Regions from separate parts of the Homo sapiens genome. Here region 1 is linked to region 2. Evidence: promoter capture Hi-C in human tissues and cell types (Jung and others, 2019). All regions are on one chromosome and are shown on one strand. The core of a region is centred on a gene start or on the middle of the fragment in contact, and the rest is flanking DNA. Distances in the headings are between cores, read along the strand shown. Region 1 overlaps GNAI3 (G protein subunit alpha i3). Region 2 holds the start of GSTM5 (glutathione S-transferase mu 5).

What was found. The method cuts DNA at HindIII sites, captures the fragments that hold promoters and counts their contacts. A contact is called where the count stands out against the background at its distance.
Region 1: a contact is called between a fragment that was not itself captured here and the fragment with the promoter of GSTM5 in region 2, in 2 of the 25 tissues and cell types used here (aorta and spleen).

Annotation. Positions count from the first base shown.
Region 1 is chr1:109,570,360-109,574,369 of GRCh38, forward strand. GNAI3 (G protein subunit alpha i3) reads left to right here. Exons shown (of 9, transcript NM_006496.4): 2 at 3,378-3,420; 3 at 3,537-3,678. Among named protein-coding and RNA genes, the nearest start is that of GNAI3, 24 kb to the left of the region's middle. The HindIII fragment of the contact is 7,050 bases long and covers 1-4,010 here.
Region 2 is chr1:109,709,310-109,713,552 of GRCh38, forward strand. GSTM5 (glutathione S-transferase mu 5) reads left to right here and starts at 2,942. Exons shown (of 8, transcript NM_000851.4): 1 at 2,942-3,039; 2 at 3,309-3,384; 3 at 3,810-3,874; 4 at 4,175-4,243. The coding sequence starts at 3,004. The HindIII fragment of the contact is 7,760 bases long and covers 1-4,243 here.

The DNA of each region.
Region 1 (4,010 bases), core at 42-2,541, 140 kb before region 2:
TAGTAATATTTATTTGAGTAGATAATTTATGTCATGACCAGTTTAAGGCCCTGGGAATGCAGGGATGAATAAGCCTTCATGGAGCTTATATTTTAGTGGGGAAGATAAGAAATGAGCTAATCTGTCATGTGAAGAAGTGGTAAGTGCTATGAAAAAATATAACACAGAATAAGGGGAGAGACTGTGACGGGGTGGGAGCTATTTAGATAGATTAGTCAGAAAAGGCTGTTCCTGTGAGGAAGAAAATCTTGCAAAACTTATTTCAGGTAACAGTAAACGCAAAGACAGGAAAGACAGAGTCAGGACCTAACTCAGTAAGAACCGGTTTGGTATGTTGGAGGAAAAGCAAGAATGCTGGTCTGACAAGAGCTGTGAGGACAAAGTGGAGAGTAACAAGAGATGAGGGTGAAGAGGTAGGCAGGGGCCAGAGCATATTGCACCATAATGCCCATGGATTTTGAGTATAATTGAAGATCGTGTGACAAGATCTAATTTACATTTTACAAAGTTTATTCCACCTACTGACTGGCAAACTGGCTTTAGAAAAGGCAAGGTCTGAAGCACTGAACTATTTAGGAAGCTTTTGCAGTGATCTAGGCCTATGGTTTCCAATGTTCAGGAACAAACTGTTAAAACTATTATATTAACTATTTATATTGCTTTATTTAAAAAAATTAAGCTTTACTAATATTTAATATACAGATTGGCACTGGCATCCTTGTCTTATCTGCACGTTAGTCACATGTCATTTAACATTTTTGGCTTGAGCAACTGGTGAATGTTGGTGCCATTTACTGGAATGAGAAGACTGAGGGAGGAGCAGGGTTTGTTTTGAGGTGAGAGTGAGTTGGGGAATCAGTATCTCAGTTTTGAGCATTTTAGGTTTGTGAAATCTAAATACCTACTAGAAATCTAATATCAGGTAGATGGTTTAGATATATGAATCTGGAGCCAAGGTTAGAAGCCAAGATTAGAGATCTAAATTTGGAAATCATTAGTATAGAGACAGTATACACCAGCTTTGGAGCCAAACTGTGAATGCAAATTTCAGTTCTGCCACTTACTAACTGTGTAATTATAGGCAAGTTACTTGACATCTGTCTGCATCATTTATCTCATCTGTAAAATGGGGGTAATAATGTCTACCTCATAGGGTTATTGTGAGGATTAAATTAGTTATTACAAACAAAGTGATTAGAACAGTGTGGCCGAGGGTACTCACTAGATGTTAACTGTTAGGATCAGTTTTTGAATAGTGTTTAAGCCATGAGATTAGGGCCGGGTGCGATTGCTCACTTCTGTAATCCCAGCATTTTGGGAGGCCGAGGCAGGTGGATCGCTTGAGCCCAGGAGTTCGAGAGCAGCCTGGCAAACATGGTGAAACCCCGTCTCTACTAAAAATACAAAAATTAGCCAGGTGTGGTGGCGTGTGCCTGTAGTCCCAGCTACTCAGGAGGCTGAGGCAGGAGAATCACTTGAACCTGGGAGGCAGATGTTGCAGTGAGCCAAGATTGCGCCACTGCACTCCAGCCTGGGTGACAGAGCAAGAGTCTGTCTCCAAAAAATAAAGACCATGAGATTAGATAACTTAGAGAATGAGTTTAGATAGGGAAAAGGGCCAAGGAGGGACCCCTGAAGCAATATAACCTTTAGAATTCAGAAACTGGGTTGGGTGCGGTGGCTTTCGCCTGTAATACTAGCACTTTAGGAGGCTGAGGCGGGCAGATCACCTGAGGTCAGGAGTTTGTGACCAGCCTGGCTAATATGGTGAAAAACCCTGTCTCTACTAAAAATACAAAAATCAGCTGGGTGTTGTGGCAGGCGCCTGTAATCTCAGCTACTCAGGAGGCTGAGGCAGGAGAATTGCTTGAACCTGGGAGGCGGAGGTTGCGGTGAGCCGAGATTGTACCATTGCACTCCAGCCTGGGCTACAGAGCGGGACTCCATCTCAAATAATAATAATAATAATAATTCAGAAACTGGAGAGAGGAGATTGAGGAGTGAAGTAGGAATCAAACCTGAAGGGTATGTTGGCTAGAAGCCTGCCTAGTGAAGAAAATATTTCAACTTAGACAAATTCTGCTTGAGAGGCTAAGATGAGCACCAAGAATTGACCAACTGGGTTTGTCAAGATGGAAGTTTTTGGAGACCTTGAGAAGTAGTTTTATTAGAGTGGTGGGGATGAAAGCCTGATTAGCATAGCTGAAGGACAGAATTGGATGTACGAAATTGGAGGCACTGAGTATAGATGGCACATTAGAGGAGTTTTGCTGCAAAGAGGGATAGAGAAAATGGTGTGGTAGCTAGAAGAAAATGTGTGGGGTCAAGGAAAGTTAGGGGTGTGTATGTGTGTTGATTTAAAGATGGAAAATAGTATAGTAAGTTTGCATGCTGATGAGAATGACCCAGTGGAAAGAAAAAACTGATCATATTTGAGATGTGGAAAATATCATGGGAAATTGCAGCAGCCATGACCTTGAGTAGGTAAAATGAAGGTGCATAAGGGGAGAAGTTGATTTTAAAACATTGGCAGAGACTTTTCATCCATTGATGAAGGTAGAGAATATTAATGGAGGTACAGATAGACTGGTAGATGTCGTTGTGGGAAAATGTAGTTTTTTCTGATTGCTTTAATTTTTATGGAAAAGTAGGGTAGGATCATCAGTTGAGAGTCAGAATTGGGAGGGGGTTTATAAAATTTGAGAGAGAGGAGGTGGTGTGATATAGGCATCTTGGAAGATAGGAAAATGAGTTGACTAGGGAAGATCTAGCAGGTGGATTTGTCAAGGAGGTCAGAAGGCTAGCTTGACATTTGTGGTCATTTGTTTAAAGTGATTCCAGCTGGCTAAGGAGGGCAGGGTGGTCTTGAGATGACATATGGTGAGAAATTGATAGGAACAATGCCTTTTCTGCTTCTATTTGAAACATCTTTAGTCCTGTGACTGGTAGTATTGCTCTCAGAACATTTCTGTGGTATAGGCAGGCAGCAACAGAGGAATTAATAAAAATGAATAGACCAAAAAATAATGATTTCATTTTTGCCCATGTTCAGTGTTTATATCATGTTTTATGTAGTGAATGAGTTCCTCCAAAAGTTTATGTTGCCATCTGTCCTTGGATATGCCTATTTTACACAAATGATACCAAGCAAGCCCTAGGACACTTTCAATAAATTATACTTGGTTGCTGAGTTATGTAAAGAAAGCAAAATGCTGTAGTGGAGAAGCTCCATACATTTTCTTGATAGACATGAAAGCCTCACCAAAATTTTCCCTAGGACCCGTGGTTTTCATCAATCTAGAGTTATCATTCATGTTGATATTATACTTTTATGTTGATTACCGAGAAATTCAAAGTCTGGTTTTCTTTTCTTACAGGTGCTGGAGAATCTGGTAAAAGCACCATTGTGAAACAGATGAAGTAAGTTGGAATGTAGCGTTTTGTTAGACTAGGATTTCTCCTAATGCATATAAAGTCCATAGTATCTTTTCATTTTAGGTCCATGGTATTGACTTGTGGTTTTCTTTGTTTTAAAGAATCATTCATGAGGATGGCTATTCAGAGGATGAATGTAAACAATATAAAGTAGTTGTCTACAGCAATACTATACAGTCCATCATTGCAATCATAAGAGCCATGGGACGGCTAAAGATTGACTTTGGGGAAGCTGCCAGGGCAGTAAGTGTTTCTCATTTCCTCTTCACTTGCTCTTATTCAGCAGATACAGTTAAGTTAAGCAAAATTTTTGCTTCATGTTTTAGGGAAATGAATTTAAGCAACAAGATAAAATGTAGCAAAGTACTTTGTGCTCACTTGAGAAATGTTAGCAATCTACTTTAGCAGGTGTTAGATATAACCACCCCAAGAGGAGCCTAGGAAATGGGATTCTGTGGGTGCACGGTAGGTTTCTGGGATAACTGTTCTATTCAATTGCTTTTTTTTTTTTTTTAACAGCACTGTTGACTTTTATAGTAGTAGATAATAGTACATTAAAATAATCTAAGAGAAAG
Region 2 (4,243 bases), core at 1,692-4,191:
TGCTGAACATAGACCCTTATCAGGAGTTCTACTTTTGCCCTTGTCCTGTTTCCTCAGAAGCATGTGATCTCTGTTCTGTTTTTTGCCCCTTAAAGCATGTGATCTTTGTACCTACCCCCCGTTCGTACACCCCCTCCCCTTTTGCAATCCTTAATAAAAGCTTGCTGGTTTTGAGGCTCGGGCCGGCATCACGGTCCTACTGATATGTGATGTCACCCCTGGCGGCCCAGCTGTAAAATTCCTCTCTTTGTACTCTTTCTCTTTATTTCTCAGCCAGCTGACACTTATGGAAAATAGAACCTATGTTGAAATACTGGGGGCAGTTTCCCCGATAGCCTTGCTGAGGAAATTAAATTTATGTTCAAGTGCTATTTCTTTATGGAACCAAGGAACAAGTATTTCAAACAATACTAATGTAACAGTACTGGTTCTATGTGTTTCAAAATTATTATTCTCATGAGTGTTAGCTTTCTTAAAAAATCGTTTTTATCAATTGGATCTAGACATCTTATCTTTCACAGCTCAAGACCCATTAACTCAAAATCATAAACTCTTAATGCATAATGAGAAATATAATGATTCCTAGGGCCAGGCACTTGTGTCTGTGCTGGTGCTATTGCCTCAATGCAGGAAAATCTATGTGAGAATTCACTGTGAGGCCAAAACTGCTTCCTAAACATGGATACCTGCCAGGTATCTGAGCTGGGAGTACTGCCCAGGTCTGGATGGGTGGGGAGTGTTTGCAACAAGGACTGTGCCTTGCCAGCCTCAGTGACACAGTGTCCAAGTGCCCCAACTTAGCAGCCACCTGCTGACCACCTGATTTCTGTGGCCTAATAGGGATGTGATGAAGTCTACCTGTTTACTCAACCCCAAACCACACATTATCCAGGTGGTTTGAAACTTTTTTGATATACTGGGTTCATCCTCTGGAGTCCTAACAATGTTTTAGCTAATTTACAAAAAAACAAAAACAAAAACAAAAAACAAAAAACTACTTTTTTTGCAGCACAACAGCCTGGTTTACATTGCAAAATGATTTCTCATTAAAGGTCTATCATCTATTTCCATATATCCATTATTATTTGTAATATCCTTTAAAAAAAGCAGTCAACCCCAGGCTAATCCATTGCACAACTCTTTTGAAAGTCTTCCTTCTACCTTGAAAGAAGAAAGTTGGCAGGTTGGACATTGTTCTTGCGGAGGTTGTACCATGGGTCACATATCACGGTGTGACTTCAAAGGCCACTGGAGCCACCGTCTCATACTGAAGAACACACATGGGTCAGGAGCCAGGTCCAGGTCCGGCATGGTGGATCTGGAGAGGGGAGAGTCCCTGCCTGTGATCCTGTGGGGAGCCCTCAGGCTCCTCTCTGGCCACCATCCTCTGACCTCCCTCCTCAGCAGGACAGGGTTCTGGCTTCTCTGAGGGACAGGTTCTGTGGCAGACCAGGTGTCACTAACACAGGCCTCCATAACAACTGTTTCAGTACTGACTGAGTGATGAAATTAAATATTAAAAGCTGAAAAAAGCCAGTACCTTTATACAGAGGCTGGATGTAACAAAAGCCCACCAAGAGTTTTGCTTAGGCCTTTCCTGGGCCTTAAAGCATGACAAAACAACGAAGGAATTCTTAACAGGACCTATTTAGAATTAAACAAGTTTTATTGTGAGTCTGAAGAAACTCCCCAGGCCTCCACAAACAAGTTTACTGGGCATCTGAAGGAACTCCCCAAACCTCCATGATTTAGCAGGAGACAAGATAAGGGCAATCATCCCCCGCACCTGGACCCATTTAGATTAAGTAAATAGACTGAGGCTCCAGAGTAAGGTCCTCAGGACCCAGACCTCAGTTACAGATTAAAGAAGTTAATCACTTATGTCTTTAGATGAATGCACACTTACTTGTAGACATATACCTTAGAAGGTATATATGCTCTGGAAAACTTTAATTTTGAGTTGGTCTGGTAGTAATTTCCAGGCCTTCTCCCTGTAACTGGTTGCAGAAATAAAACCTCTCTTCCTCCCCATTTGATCTGCATCTCGTTATTGGGCCTAGAGAAATAGCAGCCGGACCCTCAGTTTGGTCCGGGAAGTTCTTCCATCCTCCCTCGCCTGCTCTCTGTGGCCACTGCACTCACTGTTGCTGTTGCTGTTCCGGTCTCTGTGAGGTTCACCTAGTGGACTGGCTGGACATTTCTAGGGGGCACCTCAGATACCTCACCAACTTGCTGGATCTGATCCTTGGATTTCGATTCATAAATTGTGCCAAAATACGAAGTGGCTAATTTACATAGTACTTAGCCAGATGACCGAAGGACTCAGTATCCAAAGGCCCCTAACAGAAAACACAGACCACATTTCCTTTACTCTGGCCCTTTTCCTGGGGGTCCTTCCTATACCACTGACACTGTTCCTGTGTAGGCGGGGCTAGAGGGGAGACTAAGCCCTCGGAGTAGCTTTCGGATCAGAGGAAGTCCTGCTCTTACAGTGACAGGGGCTGAATTAAATTCCCAGGTTGGGACCACCACTTTTTAGTCTGACCCCTGCAGCCGGAGTCTCCCAGAGCCCTTGGGAACTCGGCAGCGGAGAGAAGGCTGAGGGATTCTGCGGGCAGGGAGGAGAAGGGAGAAGAGCTTTGCTCCGTTAGGATCTGGCTGGTGTCTCAAGCGCACAGCCAAGTCGCTGTGGACCTAGCAAGGGCTGGATGGACTCATGGAGCCTCAGGGCGGGTTGGGGAAGCTGGCGAGGCCGAGCCCCGCTTTGGGCTTCTGGGCGCCCTGACCTCGCTCCCGGAACCCTGGGGACTGGGAGGCGGGAGGGGGCTTATTGATTCCAGCCCCGGGCGCTCGCTCGGGGGCCTACAGAATGGCGTGTTTCGGGGTTGTGGCGGGCCGAGGGGCGGGGTCGCAGCAAGGCCCCGCCTGTCCCCTCCTGGGCCTCTCAAAGTCTGAGCCCCGCTCCGCTGATGCCTGTCTGCAGAATCCGCACCAACCAGCACCATGCCCATGACTCTGGGGTACTGGGACATCCGTGGGGTAAGCGAGGGTCCTCTGGTGGGTGGGACAGGGGGCGGAGGCGGGGATGTGTGGAGTAGCTGCAGGACTGGCTCTAGGGACCGTTCCTCTTCAGGGCTGCCCGCCTCAGAAGGGCCTGTGCATGACGCTGTGTGTGTGTTTGGGGGTGGGGGCGGGTAGAGGAGGCGACGGGTACGTGCAGTATAGACTAGGGGCTGGCCTGGTGCAGAGAAAGTCACCAAGTCAGGGACCCTCCATCTCTGACCCGAGCCGCGGGCCATCTCTCCCAGCTGGCCCACGCCATCCGCTTGCTCCTGGAATACACAGACTCAAGCTATGTGGAAAAGAAGTACACGCTGGGGGACGGTAATGGCACCCTCGTGTCCGGGCCCTGCCCACTCACGCTGAGTTGGCACCAAGCAACCCATGGTGGCCACCTGTGGCTGCCTCTGCAGGCCTCCCCTGCTGGAGCTGCAGGCTGTCCCTTCCCTGAGCTCCCGTGAGTGAGCCCTCTGGCCTTGCAAGGCAGAATGCTGGGGCGGGATGCTGGACACCCTGTCTAATTGGGTTGGGTGTCCCTCAGAGCTTCCCTAAACCCTGGAAGCCTTAGCCGTTGTGGGGTCCAGAGCCCTCAGTGGGATTCTTTCTCCCTGAACCCTGGGATGTGGGACTGAGTGGTCAGATTCTAGATCCACCTGTCTCAGGGATCTTGCCACTGGCTCCTTGGGAGGGTCCCCGGGAAGGAGGGCTGGGCTCTGGGGAGGTTTGTTTTCACTTCTTCCCCACCACAGCTCCTGACTATGACAGAAGCCAGTGGCTGAATGAAAAATTCAAGCTGGGCCTGGACTTTCCCAATGTAGGTGCAGGGGAAGGGGCGGTTTTGGGGGAAAGTGCGACGTGTCTCTGACTGCATCTCCTCTCCCCACCTTAGAGGTGTTAAGATCAGGAGTCTTCTGCCCAATTCCTCTCACTCTTGGCTGTCTACACAGCCCTTGCATGATGTTCTGTGTCCCAGCTCATTTATTAGTGTGACAGTATTTCTATCTCAGGCCTGCCATGAGCAGGCCCTGGTCTCCTCTCTGCCCTTGCATATGGGAAGGGGATGCTGGGGAGCCTGGTGGCCCAACTGAGCTTCCCCGGTTTCCCATCTATCCAGCTGCCCTACTTGATTGATGGGGCTCACAAGATCACCCAGAGCAATGCCATCCTGCGCTACATTGCCCGC